Linked DNA regions of Homo sapiens: region 1 is linked to region 2. Evidence: promoter capture Hi-C in 16 types of primary human blood cells and fetal thymus (Javierre and others, 2016). All regions are on one chromosome and are shown on one strand. The core of a region is centred on a gene start or on the middle of the fragment in contact, and the rest is flanking DNA. Distances in the headings are between cores, read along the strand shown.

The links. The method cuts DNA at HindIII sites, captures the fragments that hold promoters and counts their contacts. A CHiCAGO score of 5 or more calls a contact.
Region 1: a fragment that was not itself captured here is called in contact with the fragment with the promoter of DENND3 in region 2 in 2 of 17 cell types (neutrophils and monocytes); the score reaches 9.3 in neutrophils.

Annotation. Positions count from the first base shown.
Region 1 is chr8:141,256,900-141,262,845 of GRCh38, forward strand. The region is part of intron 1 of SLC45A4 (solute carrier family 45 member 4); the gene reads right to left. Among named protein-coding and RNA genes, the nearest start is that of SLC45A4-AS1, 5.3 kb to the left of the region's middle. RefSeq lists an enhancer at 1,353-1,874. The HindIII fragment of the contact is 2,339 bases long and covers 1,069-3,407 here.
Region 2 is chr8:141,127,339-141,130,038 of GRCh38, forward strand. DENND3 (DENN domain containing 3) reads left to right here and starts at 1,251. Exons shown (of 23, transcript NM_001352890.3): 1 at 1,251-1,471. The coding sequence starts at 1,370. DENND3-AS1 (DENND3 antisense RNA 1) reads right to left here. Exons shown (of 2, transcript NR_183310.1): 1 at 2,686-2,700. RefSeq lists enhancers at 1-678, 1,512-2,342 and a silencer at 797-1,656. The HindIII fragment of the contact is 7,380 bases long and covers 1-2,700 here.

The DNA of each region.
Region 1 (5,946 bases), core at 988-3,487, 130 kb after region 2:
CTGGAGTGCAGTGGTGTGATCTCGGCTCACTGCAACCTCCGCCTCCCAGCTTCAAGCGATTCTCCCGCCTCAGCCTCCTGAGTAGCTGGGATTACAGGCACATGCCACCACGCCCAGCTAACTTTTGTATTTTTAGTAGACACAGGGTTTCACCATGTTGGCCAGGATGGTCTTGATCTCCTGACCTCATGATCCACCTGCTTCGGCCTCCCAAAGTGCTGGGATTACAAGCGTGGGGCACCACACCCAGCCAGAACTATTTCTAACATATGCAAAGTAAACAGAATAGTGTAAGAAACCACCCAGGTTTAATAAGGACCAACATTCTGCTATTCTTGTTCCGCCCCCACCTTTTCGGAATCATTCCTAACAGAAAATTTCACGATTTTCCCTGTTTTCAGTCTGTCAATCTTGTACCAGAATAGGGTCAATGATTTTAACTGCTTTCTTCCACCAGGTAAGAAGAGTCATTTTTGTGAGAAGAAGTAACACCCAGACATGTCTGCAAAGACTGAAAACATCAGCTGGGTTTTGGGCAGGAACAAAAGCAATTAGTTTTCTAAGAAATCCTAATGACTTAATTATAAACATCAGACCCTTCATGCCTGCTCAATCGGCTCTTTGTCCCATTACAGTGTCCTCGGAGACTTGTGCCTGAAGTGAAGCCGTCTCTGTTCCTAAGAGTCGTTCCAGTAAGAGCTGAGAGTTAGGCAATAAATGTCTGTAATAAGTAATATATGAATTATTCTAAGGTAGTGATTCTCAGCCAGGGGCAACTCTGCACCCTCCAGGGACACTTGGCAATGACGTGAGACATCTCTGCTTGCGACAACAGGGGGAGGAGGGGACAGTACTGGCATCTTATAGGCGGAGGCCAGGGATGCCTTTCAACTCACCACAGTGCACAGAACAGCCTCCAGCAGAGAAGGCCCTGGCCCAGAACGTCAACAGCACCAGAGGGAGACACTCTGTTCTAGGGTTATTACTAAATAGGAAAACGGCTTTCTTTAAAAATGCTTCACCCCTTGATTATTCCATTCCGAGTCCACCGACAAGACCAGACACTGAAGCTTTCTCTGTAAAGCTGGATGATGAACATTTCCGGGATTTCGGGCCACAGATGGTCTCTGTTGTACATTCTCCTTTTTTGTTTCTTCTTCCTTTTTTTTTTTTTTTTTTTTTTAACAATCCTTTAAAAACACAACACCTATTCTTAGCTTGCTGGTCATTCTTGTAAATCCCAGCTCTGCGCTGGATCTGCCCCCTGGGTCACAGTTTGCTGCCCTCCGGCCTGGCCTAGGGTCAGGAAGTCGCCAGAGTCTCTCTAACAGGAAAGAAGGCGACGGTGGAGCCCTGCTTGGCTCCCACACCCCCCAGCCTCACTCTGCTCCGTGCCACCTAAACTGTCCAGTCCTGACTTAAACGACCCGAGGCCAGGAGTGTAGGTGGCAACGCTACAGGCCATTCCTTTCCCAAGCAGCTCAGCTGCGCTCCAGCCAGTGGTATTTCTCAGCACCTTGTTTGCAAAGAGCAGGTTGCATAAGAATCACTGATGAGCCACAGAGAAAAGCCCCAGGCAACCATCGGCCTCTCACATGGAGCATGGACTCCAACCTTGGGGCCACAGGGATGGCCACCAAAAGGTCTCAGGGATCAGCTAAAGACTCATTCAGCCTGTGCAACAGTCAGACCCGTTTTTCAAAGACAGCATGGTGGTGCACACCTGTGATCCCAGCTACTCCAGAGGCTGAGGCAGGAGGATCGCTTGAGCCCAGGAGTTGAAGACCAGCCTGGGCAACACAGCAAGACTCCATCTCTATAATTATTATTATTATTTTTTAATTAGCCAGATGTGATGGTATGTGCCTATAGTCCCATCTACTCAGGAGATTGAGGCAGAAGGATTGTTTGAGCCCAGGAGTTCAAGGCTGAAGTAAGCTACAATTATGCCATTGAACTCCAGTCTGCGAGACACAGTGAGACCTCTTTTTTTTAAAAAAAAAAAAAACAGACTCTAAAACAAGATGTCTTTTTACCTGGGAATAGCTGAGGATTTCAAAAAACTAAGCCCTCAGGGAGCAAAGGCCCTGTGTCCTTAGTAACAGAGTCACAAGTCCACAGAAGGACAGAGTGGTGCAGGAGCGCTCCCTTGACATGGAAAGTCAGCTGCCTCACTGGAGTTCCTCTGACATGTTGGGGCTTTCCTAGCAAACTTCTAACAACTGGTGTAAAGTTGGCCTTCCAAAGAGAAGATGAAAAGGAGGGAGACCAGCATCTGGGTGGGAAAGGCATCTAGCCCACACTCCCAGAGTATCCGCATGGCCACGGTCAGGGCAAGCCGCCAGACACCGCTGCTCAGCAGGCTGAGGGGCCAGCAAGACGGCTTCACGCCTTGGGACACTGCTGACCCAGCCCGCCAGTGATGGCGCTGCACGTTCAGCCGTGCACACAGGCCCCACCTCAGGCCCCCCAGCTCCAGAACCATGCCTGGGCAGTGCTGCCCATTGGTCGAGGGATCACCCTTCGGAGCAGGCTGCCTCTCCGCCAGCCTGCACCCTTCCGTCTCTCCCCTGAGCTTGGCTCTGCCCACACCACCGGCCATGCATCTCCCTTGCCCTTCCCATGCATCTCCTCTTGCATCTCCTCCCGTGCATCTCCTCTTGCCCTTCCCACCTTCAGCTCAACCACCCTGTTTTTAGAGACTCTTCTCAGGGCTCACTGGACCCCTTTAGAACGGGTGATCCCCATCTTGCACAAAGGATTATGACAGCTACTGGTAGGTGGCAAAACCCTGCCAAGCAGTGAGAGAAGCCCCCTCAAGAGACCCTCATCCCCCGCTTTCATCTGTCCCCAGATCTCCCAGCATCGGTCCACAATGGGCAACGTCCATGCTTCTTGAACCTGGGCTTTCCCTTCCATATGCACCGTTTCCAGCCACACAGCAAGAGCTTGACAAGATTTGTTAAATGAACAAATGAAGCGAATGAATGAATAAGGCTGATCAGCTGATAGTTACTATGGGGTATCTGCACTGGAAAACCATTCCCCACCCCACCAGCTATGCTGAAGTCACGCCCAGGTGCCCCGGGTGACCAGCCACCGGCTTATGCGTCCCTGAAGTCCTCATGAAACAGCATGAGCATGGCACCGGTGTCACCTGTTACGCAAGTAGTCTACGCATGGACACAGCTGGCTTCCCTTCCTCAAGCAGGGCAGAGGCAGGGGCACAGTACACGGATTTTACACAGGTGACCTCACTGGCATCTATATTGATGAAAACAACAAATATCTTTAGACATCTTGAGTTTGTTTAAAGTAGCAGTAAGTACAAAAATCTACCAAATGTCTCATACCTTCATGAACTTATCCAAGGAATGTTATCAACCTAGGGTGTTAACACCAATGCAAGCTTCCGAGCTTCTAAGAGCAGGCAAAGTTGAGGCAACTGTCCAAACAGTAATCTTAACAAGGCTAAATTAACCACTACAACAACATCACCTCATGTTAACCAACCTTAATTTCCTCAAAGATATGCACCCATTGGACTAACCCAGTTTTAAAGTGAGTATCTTGAAGACAACACCCAACAGCTCACAGCAGGATGCCACCTGGTGCAGCTGCTGCTTCCAAACATTTTATTTCTGCAAAGCCCTGGGGATTCTGTAAGCACTTTAGGGGAAGTCAGAAAATAATTTAAAAATAAAGTTTAAAACTAGAAAATCTAGAAGAAATGGATAAATTCCTCGACACATACACCCTCCCAAGACTAAATCAGGAAGAAGTTGAATCTCTGAATAGACCAATAACAGGCTCCGAAATTGTGGCAATAATCAATAGCTTACCAACCAAAAAAAGTCCAGGACCAGATGGATTCACAACCGAATTCTACCAGAGGTACAAGGAGGAGCTGGTACCATTCCTTCTGAAACTATTCCAATCAATAGAAAAAGAGGGAATCCTCCCTAACTCATTTTATGAGGCCAGCATCATCCTGATACCAAAGCCTGGCAGAGACAGAACCAAAAAAGAGAATTTTAGACCAATATCCTTGATGAACATTGATGCAAAAATCCTCAATAAAATACTGGCAAACCGAATCCAGCAGCACATCAAAAAGCTTATCCACCATGATCAAGTGGGCTTCATCCCTGAGATGCAAGGCTGGTTCAACACTCGCAAATCAATAAATGTAATCCAGCGTATAAACACAACCAAAGACAAAAACCACATGATTATCTCAATAGACGCAGAAAAGGCCTTTGACAAAATTCAACAACCCTTCATGCTAAAAGCTCTCAATAAATTAGGTATTGATGGGACGTATCTCAAAATAAGAGCTATCTATGACAGACCCACAGCCAATATCATACTGAATGGGCAAAAACTGGAAGCATTCCCTTTGAAAACTGGCACAAGACAGGGATGCCCTCTCTCACCACTCCTATTCAACATAGTGTTGGAAGTTCTGGCCAGGGCAATTAGGCAGAAGAAGGAAATAAAGGGTATTCAATTAGGAAAAGAGGAAGTCAAATTGTCCCTGTTTGCAGATGACATGATTGTATATCTAGAAAACCCCATCGTCTCAGCCCAAAATCTCCTTAAGCTGATAAGCAACTTCAGCAAAGTCTCAGGATACAAAATCAATGTAGAAAAATCACAAGCATTCTTATACACCAATAACAGACAAACAGAGAGCCAAATCATGAGTGACCCCCCATTCATAATTGCTTCAAAGAGAATAAAATACCTAGGAATCCAACTTACAAGGGATGTGAAGGACCTCTTCAAGGAGAACTACAAACCACTGCTCAATGAAATAAAAGAGGATACAAACAAATGGAAGAACATTCCATGCTCATGGGTAGGAAGAATCAATATCATGAAAATGGCCACACTGCCCAAGGTAATTTATAGATTCAATGCCATCCCCATCAAGCTACCAATGACTTTCTTCACATAACTGGAAAAAACTACTTTAAAGTTCATATGGAACCAATAAAGAGCCTGCATCGCATCCTAAGCCAAAAGAACAAAGCTGGAGGCATCACGCTACCTGACTTCAAACTATACTACAAGGCTACAGTAACCAAAACAGCATGGTACTGGTACCAAAACAGAGATATAGATCAATGGAACAGAACAGAGCCCTCAGAAACAATGCCACATATCTACAACCATCTAATCTTTGACAAACCTGACAAAAACAAGAAATTGGGAAAGGATTCCCTATTTAATAAATGGTGCTGGGAAAACTGGCTAGCCATATGTAGAAAGCTGAAACTGGATCCCTTCCTTACACCTTATACAAAAATTAATTCAAGATGGATTAAAGACTTACATGTTAGACCTAAAACCATAAAAACCCTAGAAGAAAACCTAGGCAATACCATTCAGGACATAGGCATGGGCAAGGACTTCATGTCTAAAACACCAAAAGCAATGGCAACAAAAGCCAAAATTGACAAATGGGATCTAATTAAACTAAAGAGCTTCTGCACAGCAAAAGAAACTACCATCAGAGTGAACAGGCAACCTACAAAATGGGAGAAAATTTTCACAACCTACTCATCTGACAAAGGGCTAATATCCAGAATCTACAATGAACTCAAACAAATTTACAAGAAAAAAAACAACCCCATCAAAAAGTGGGTGAAGGATATGAACAGACACTTCTCAAAAGAAGACATTTATGCAGCCAAAAAACACATGAAAAAATGCTCATCATCACTGGCCATCAGAGAAATGCAAATCAAAACCACAATGAGATACCATCTCACACCAGTTAGAATGGCAATCATTAAAAAGTCAGAAACAACAGGTACTGGAGAGGATGTGGAGAAATAGGAACACTTTTACACTGTTGGTGGGACTGTAAACTAGTTCAACCATTGTGGAAGTCAGTGTGGCGATTCCTCAGGGATCTAGAACTAGAAATACCATTTGACC
Region 2 (2,700 bases), core at 1-2,500:
CCTCAGCTCACCGATGAGAGCCACCGATGGTAGGCAGCCTCCAGGCCTGGGGGAGAACCAGCAGATCCTCACCATCTTTAGGTTAATAAGTGAAATAAAACCTGTGAGTCAGGCTGCAGTCACGGCCTCACCCGGCTCAGGGAAGGAGGGAGAAATTCCTCAGGGCTCCCTTTTCTGATGTTGCCTTGCTTTGTACTTACTGTTCCTTTTCCTGTTCAGCTGATGACAGATGTTTGACATTAAGCATTTTAGAGTTTTGTTTTTTAGAAAATAGAATCATAGATTATCAGAAGTGGAAGTCCCTTTGGAATAATTTCCCCTGGGTTACACAGATGGCTATGGCAGGGTCAAGGGAGGGGACGGTCAGCGGGGACTGAGCGCAGGCCCCCTCCAGGCTCTGCAGCAATGACCAGGCAGCAAGCCGGCCTCCCGGGCTTGTGGGCTGTCCTCTTTCTCTGGGGTCAGCCTGAGGCTGGAAGAGGCCCGTGGCCCACCGGGCATCAGGCCAAGCCTGGAGCTGACCAGGGAAGGGCCCTGCCAGGCCTTGGGCCTCTGACCCTCAGTCCTGAAGCCTCCCTCTAGCGGCGCCCACCCTGCTCCTTTTCCTGCTGAATTTTACTCAAGTCCGTACTTGAGTATGGCCGGCCCTAGGTTAACCCCGCAGAGTTATTAACCAGGAGTGGCTCTTTCCACCCCCCCTTCCCGCCGGCCCTTCCTGCTGTCCACACCCGGCCAACTCCACTGTCCTGGCAAGGGAGGGCTTCCTGGAGGCGGCAGCGGGCGGCGCGTCCGGCCTTTGTCCCCCCACGCTCTCCAGGGTAGGTCCAGGGACTGCCAGATCAGGGGACCCTTTGCGTCCTGGAGCCTTGGGGGCTGGATGACGTCGCCGGGCACCTGAGGACCCCGCCCATTCCTCCCTCGGTTCCCCAGGGAGCGGGCGGCCGGCGGGGCTGGGCGGGGCCGAAGGAAGGGGCCGCTTGCTCCGACGCCGCGCACGCGCCAGGGCCCGCAGGCGGGTTAGGAAATGACGACCGCGCGCGGGTCTCCAGCAGCACCCGCCCTAGGACCGGCCCCGCCCCCAAGTCCCGGTCCCTAGGGCCGGGCACGCCACTCCAGGCCCCGCCCAGAACCTCCCCGCCCAGTCAAGCCCCGCCCCCAAACTCTGTCTCCCCGCGGTATCCTCTGGGGCTCTCCAGGCCCCGCCTCGGCTCGGGCCCCGCCCCTCCAGGCCCCGCCTCCAGCCCCGCCCCGCAGACGGCGCTCGCAGCGCCCCCGGCCCCCAGGCGGCGCGGCTGGTCCCCAGGGGTCTGCGGGCGACTGCGCGGCTGAGGCGCCCGAGTGCGGTACTGGCGGCGGGCGGCGGGCAGCCATGGCGGAGGCCGCGTCGCCGCACTTGTCGCTGCCCTCGGGGCTGCTGGAGCTCTGCGCGCTGCTGGGCGCCCCCCGGGACAGTCTCCGAAGTCTCGAGCAGGTGAGGGGCGGGGAAACTGAGGCGGACGTGGGCCACGAGTCGGCAGCCGGGACAGCAGTCGGAGAGCGGGCGCCCGGGTGCCCTGTGGGTTGGCGCGGACTTTCCGAGGGCTGAGTCCCGGTCCCCCGGCGGTGACCCCGCGCGCCTGTGGCCGGGGATCGCGCCCGAGCTCAGGCAGGTGCCCTGGAGCAGCGCCCTGCTCCCCTCCCCTCTTCTCTCCTCTCCCCGCCCGGGGCCCTTGGTGTGAGACATGTCTTTTGAGAGCTGCGAACTTGGTCCGCCGGCCGGGAATCTGGGGGTGCCGCCCCTCGGAGAGTCTCTGGGGCCTCTCTCTTCAGTCGCTCCCATCTTGGGCAGGTGCTTCTGAAGGTGGGGTGCACCAGACAACGGGCGGAAGCCGCCGGAGCCTCACGGTCTAGCGGGCCCAGCCCTCGCTGCTGAAATGATTTCATTCTTTATGCTGGGATGTGTTGTCCCCTGAGTAGTGGGTTTTGCACCAGGCACAGAATAACGAGAGAGCAATCTTAGAGTTAGCCGCCGGCCTCGCGTATTCTGCATGAACCCCTTTGCGATGAAGCCTATAGCTATTTTTCTCCCTTGCGGTACCACCCCCACCCCCAACCCTTCCTCCATCTCTGCACCCTCGCAGCCAAAGTGACAACTTCATCTCCCTTCTGCTGGGAAAGCGGCAGTTTTGGAAATTCTCGTTTTCCTTTTTCTTCCCCAGCTTTTCTTAATTCTGTAACGCTGGCTTTCCCTGGAATCCATCTGTGTCTCTGGTTTCCTCCTGGTCCGCCTGTCTGTGACACCGTGACTGGGTCATGTTACCTAGAGATCCCGGCGTCACTGGCCAGCCGTCTGCACAGGTCCGTTCATCTCTTTGCAGACAACAGCATAGAAAGGCAGAGAGGCTTCTGAGTATTTAAATGACGCTGGGCTATCCAGGGAAAATGAAGACTGCAGGGCAGAGGGTGTCACCAGGAAAGGCAGATGTTCCTGCAAGTAACCAGATGAATGTCTGTGAGTGTCCGGGGAGTTTCCCCTGCTGGGCGTCAGTACCAAGCCAGTTTCGACTTCAGTGAAAAAGCATTCTCCTATGGAAATAGTTTCCTCGTTTCCCTCAACTTTTCCTTCCCTTCAACGCCCTGTCATGTCAGTAGATCCCGTTTGACCTCTGTCTCCTCGCAACGTCATCGATTGATTTGTCTCCCTACCTCGAATTTGCCAGA